Regions from separate parts of the Homo sapiens genome. Here region 2 is linked to region 1. Evidence: promoter capture Hi-C in human tissues and cell types (Jung and others, 2019). All regions are on one chromosome and are shown on one strand. The core of a region is centred on a gene start or on the middle of the fragment in contact, and the rest is flanking DNA. Distances in the headings are between cores, read along the strand shown.

What was found. Contacts are between HindIII fragments. The study calls those that stand out against the background at their distance.
Region 2: the fragment with the promoter of ZNF599 here is called in contact with the fragment with the promoter of WTIP in region 1 in 1 of the 25 tissues and cell types used here (heart right ventricle).

The regions. Positions count from the first base shown.
Region 1 is chr19:34,480,397-34,483,096 of GRCh38, reverse strand. WTIP (WT1 interacting protein) reads right to left here and starts at 1,339. Exons shown (of 8, transcript NM_001080436.2): 1 at 456-1,339. The coding sequence starts at 1,122. RefSeq lists enhancers at 301-955, 956-1,611, 1,612-2,266. The HindIII fragment of the contact is 21,139 bases long and covers 1-2,700 here.
Region 2 is chr19:34,771,864-34,774,563 of GRCh38, reverse strand. ZNF599 (zinc finger protein 599) reads left to right here and starts at 1,349. Exons shown (of 4, transcript NM_001007248.3): 1 at 1,349-1,740. The coding sequence starts at 1,723. LOC124904696 (a long non-coding RNA gene) reads right to left here and starts at 1,217. Exons shown (of 2, transcript XR_007067234.1): 1 at 870-1,217; 2 at 1-297. RefSeq lists an enhancer at 1,419-1,528 and a silencer at 1,639-1,698. The HindIII fragment of the contact is 7,437 bases long and covers 1-2,700 here.

The sequences.
Region 1 (2,700 bases), core at 90-2,589:
AGAGGCGACGGCTACAGTAAGCCGAGGACGCGCCGCTGCACTCCAGTCTCGGCGACAGAGGAAGACCCTGTCTCAAAAAAAAAAAAAAAAGAAGAAAGAAAAAAAAAAAAGAAGAAAGAAGAAAAAATTATCAGAAAATGGCTCAGTGTGCCCATGAACCTGACTTGCCTGTTAAGTTAGGAACCGCACATCAACTCACTCGGCCAGAACCCCTCGTGTGTCGGGGGACCCAGAGGCAGGGGTGAAGCCGCTGCTGGGGATCCAGGCGCACTCACTCACCCTTTGCGCTCCCCAGTCCCCAGGGGATGCACCTTCCTCGTCCCAACCCCGTGCACTGCTGCACCCCCAGCCAGCCCCGTGCTCTCCTCCGCTGATCCGGCCGCCTACCCGAGGCAGTCTCGGAACCCCGGACCCCAGCCATGCGCGCAGGGAACTGCCGGGCCGAGCGAGCTCACCGAAGTAGTCCCGCGCCGTGCGCGCCTCGAGCGCCCGCTCCAGCTCCCGGGTGAGCGCCTCCAGCCGCCGCTCGGCCGCGCTTGGGCCGCCCTCCCGGCCAGGGGGCAGCGGGAGTGCAGGCAGCGGGAAGGGAGCCGGCCCCGCAGGCTCCGGGGAGCGAGCGGGCGCGGGGCAGGCGCCGGGCGGGAGGAAGTCAGCGTAGGCGCCGGCCGAGCCCCGGGAGCCGAGGCTGGAAACGCTGGAGCGGGCGCTGCCCACCGAAGGCGGCCCGGGACCGGGACGCGGGTCCGAGCGACCGGAGCGCGGGCTGCCGTGGCGCTGGTCGTAGCCCAGGCTGATGCCGCTGGATCGGGCGCTGCCGCCACCGCCGCCGCCGTCGGACCCCGCCAGGCTGGCCCGTGGGCTGCCCGCAGGCTGCGCGCTGAGCTCCGGAACCGCCGCGCGCCGGGGACCCCGCTCCCCGCGGCTCAGTCCGTCCGCCCCGGCCTCGGGGCCGCCGCTGCCCTTCCCTCTGCGGCCCAGCGCGGGCGCCGCCTCGTCTCCAGGCCCAGGCCGCGGCCCCCGCCGCCCCCGACCGGGAGAGCCGCACCCGGGCTCCAGCTCCCGCAGGGCCAGCCCGGCCAGGAGTAGGGCCGCCTCGTCCGCGCCCGCCCTGGAGCGCTGCATGGCCCGGCCCGCCGGCCCTGGCGCGTCACCTCCGCCTCCGCTTCCCGCCGCCGCTCCGGCCGGGCCGCCGCATCGTCCGCCCGAAGCCCGGAGCCCGCCCCGGGACCCCTGGGCGCGGGGCGGGGCGGGGCCGGCGCCGGGCCGGGGTCGTTCCGGCGGCCACGCGCGGGCCGGGGGACGCGGCGCCCTGCTCGGCGGCGCGCGCGGCGGAGGAATGTAAGCTCCCAGGCGCCGGGCCGCGCCCCCTCCTCGCCGCGGCCTCGCGCGGGGCGGAGGGACTCCTTTGCGGGGGCAGGAATGCGAGGAAGGAGACGGCGCTGCGGCCTCTGGAATGTGGGGGGAGTGGCGGCGGCCGCGCTGCGCCGGGACCTCGGAGGGGCGTGGAGGCCGGGCCAGGACGCAGGGGCGGGCGGCGGAGGCACCGCGGGGAGAGCCCAGGGTCTGCGGGGCGCCCGGGCCGTCGGGCCGCTGGGAAGAGCTCGGATTTCCGCAGGCTGAGCTGGAGGCAGCTGGCGCCATCCGGGCCGGAGAGATCCAAGCAGTCGACAGCTTTCCCCACATCCCGCCCCATCTCCCTTCCCTGCGCCGCCTTGCTCTCCGGCGCTGCAGGGCCGACCCAGCTCAGCTTGGAACCCACGGCGCTTCGCCCGTCCCGCGCCCAGGAATACTGTGCGCCTAGCGCAGATGCGTCCCCACGACCCCCTGCCTGGCCCGGGGCCATGTGGCCGCGCACCGGCCTCTGAAGCCCCCATCTGACTGCTGGGGAAGGCGCCCAGAACTAGGAGCGGGTTGGTTGGGGACTGGTCCTCGCGCTGGGTCGCTTCGCCCAGGCCCCCAAGGCCAGGCTAGAAGCAGGCCTCAGGCTCAGAGCCGGTGGGCGGCGAGCCTCCCCTGTGGCCATCACAGGCAGTCCCCGTGAAATATGGGGACTCCTCCCTTTTCCAGCACCTGCATCCAGGGTGGTGGGTGAGGCTTCGAGGGGAGGTCCTGGAACCAGCGGGGCCATAGGGGCCACATAGGTGGGGAATCGAGAGGTGACTAGGGCTTCGTGCCCAAGGACACAACTAAAATCCCTTGTACAAGTCACACGGCTATAGGGAAGAAAACCAAACCGTTATCTGTCAGGGCCTGATGGATCCAAGAAAAGTGTTGCGTGAGAGAGTACTGTTTTCCAGGCCCTCTCTGCTCAGAGATTTTCGGGAAGGCGCCTACAGTGGCTCAGCGCGCAGGGAGCCCGCACGGGAACTGTCCCGGCCAGACCGCCCAGGGCAGTGTGGCCTCAACACCACTGAGCACCCGCTGGGGCCGCTAACCCCAGCACCTTCCCATAGCCTGCGGAGTTCCAGCCCCTGCCCCACCAGGGTAGGGGAAGTGGAAGCAAGCATTTCGTGTGCGCGGAGGGTGGGGGAGTTGCGCTGTTTTGTTTTTTTCAGACAAGGTGTCGCTCTGTCCCCCAGGCTGGAGTACAGTGGTGTGATCACAGCTCACAGTGATCACACACACCCCAGAGTCTCAACCTCCTGGGCTCAAGCAATCCTCCCACCTCGGACTCCTGAGTACGTAGGAGTACAGGCGCAC
Region 2 (2,700 bases), core at 100-2,599, 290 kb before region 1:
TAGGCCATGGAATATAGGCAGAAGTGATTGCAAAATTGTGTCTTCATTATGTTTTCTTATTTCTGCTCCATCCTGGGGATGCCTCTTTGGATGTAATGCTTTTACTTTTCACAGTGTCCAGGATTATTGCCCTCTTCATGTGGGCTACAGGTTTGGGTGGTGGGCTGAAAGTGTCTTGATGAGACAAGATCTGGTGACCCTGAGTTGCTGGGCATAAGCTGGGCCATCTGGTTTGTGCCTGGTTCTGGCTTCCCTGGGGGCTGGAGGGGCAGATGGGGAGGGGTCAGATCCTGGTTGCTGTGAATTAGAGATGAACAGTGACACGCCATCTTACATCACAAACTAGAAACCATGTCAACTCCACTCTTCCCTTAGGGCTGCAGGTAATTAGTCTCAGTGATCCTAAGTTTTGAATCATGTAAGAAAGTATCCCTTGGGCAATAGGTCTACCTGTATATTAGGAAACCCTCCTGCATATACCGTTTTAAAAAGATGCATACGCCAAATGCTGCAACGTATTATTATGTAAAATTTAAACAGTATTCATGAGGCTCCTGTTGAATCAGTCAACGTATTTGTTTTGACAAATATCAGAGTCTGCAAAGAAGTATCTCAGACCCTCCCCTAGCAGTGTATTGTGATGATGTTGCCAATAATACAGAATATTAATAATGACAGCAATAGCTCTTATGTTCTTATCGGTATGTTCCAGGCCCAGTGCTAAGCAATTCTTAGTTACTTCCCACCAAACAGGTGGCTTTGTCTCATTTATTTACTGGAATTTAAAGAGTCTGGTTCTCAAATGTTTTGCAGCATCCACTTTTCCTGGACAAGTTAAGCAGAGGGCTGGGTCCCACCCCCCAGAGTACCTGATTCAGTGGGTGGGGACTAAGAACTTGCATTGGTAACAAATTCGCAGGTAATGCTGATGTCATCTGAAAATTACTGATAGGGGAAATTTTAATATTATCATATTAAATAATTATCTTCATTTTCCTTAGGAATCTCCATCTCAAGGCTCAGAGAGATGAACTGCTGGCGCAGGGATACACAGGGAGGAAAGTCAAGGCGTGAGTTGCCTGGTAGAGACATTTGAGAGTGGGTCATTGCCTCAGATAATTTCCACGGAACTCTGTGTGCCTCTCCTTTAAGAAGAGGTGAAGCCAATCCCTTTCTTGGGAGCCTTGAGAAGCCGCCTCACCGAGAACAGAAAGTGCGCTCCAGGTACCACCCGGATTCCGTCAAACTACATTACCCAGAAGGCAGTGCTACAAGGGACGGAAGCCGACCCCAAGCCATAGACGGAAGGCGCAGAGGGGCGTTCCCGTAGCGGCGTGGGCGGGACTTCCGGCGTCCAGTCTTCGTCCGCCGTTAGGTTGCGGCTGCTGTGGTTGCCAACGCTACACTGGGTAGAACGCCAGACAGGGGCCACTTTTCGAGACCGAGTAGAGACGGACAGTGAGGAGGATAGGACCCACTTACACGCTTTTATGTCAGCCGCGATCCCACCCCCACAAGCGTCTGCAAAACCCTTCCTGGGGCCTTGGCGACAGCCCTGTGTCCTCACGGCGCGCAGAGGCGGCGCCGCGAACCTTGTGTGCATTTTACACGACGGCGGGGACTGAGGTCCCTCGCAGCCCAGAGCCGGAGCCCGGGGTCGGCCGAGCCCGCAGGACCGGCTTCCTCGCCGACTCTCACGGCCTCACCCAGCCCCCTGGGCCCATGGCGGCGCCGGCGTTGGTGAGTGGAGGGTTCCGCAGCCCGCGCGAGCTCGGGTCACCGCCCGCATGCACCCATCCGCTGTAATACGGCGGATGCCGGGACTCTGTGCTTCTCCCTTTTGATGCCCTAGGTTATGGAGATCCCGGGAGAGGGTGAGGTGAGAGGGCAGGGCTAATCACTTCCTACCCAGGGTCCTGAATCCAGGACAGGAGTTGTAAGGAGAGGTCCCTGTCTCTGGCTCTAACCTGGAGCTGTCGCCTCGCTGCCCTCGGCCTCCATTCCCTCGGGTCTAAAATGCGAGTCTCAGTAATTTTCTCTGTGGAGGGAGCTGGAGAGGGTACGCTTGTGACGTGGGTCCTGTCTTTCACTGCTCGGAGAGCATCACTCTAGGTGCCGTCTTTGAAGAAGGACTCTCTAGGTCCTGCTGTTGTTTTAGGGGATCATTCCAGCGGAAGTCTGGCCCTACCAAAAGCTGGGAGAGGGAATGAGAGCCTCGAGGGCAAGAGGTGAGGCGGGAGCAGCATTTTTGGCAGGAGGCTAGAAGACAAGAAGCTCATTGGATTTATCTTTGCAGATGCCGTCTGTTTATTACAAATGAATCTGGCTTGCCGCCTAACAGCAGTGAATCCGTGCTTCTGTTTAACACATGCTCTTGTATTTGAAAAGCAAATCCAGCACAATATTCATTAATGACAGTGTACATGAATGTATGTCTCTTGGAGTGTGAGCACATAAGGCCCCAAGTTACTCTCCAGCATGTCACACTGTTTACTCCTCGTAGCTCTGATCACCTTCAGGAGTTGTCTATTCATTTTTCCTCACCTGGTCTGTTCTCTAACTTCAATCTAACCTTGTTCCAGGGTCTCTTCAGAGAGAGCTTCCCTGGTTGCATCATGTAAAGTCTCTCCCAGTCTTTGTGGTCTTCTCACTCTTGTGTTGTTTTCTAGAGTCTTCTGACTTTATCTTGATTGTTTATTG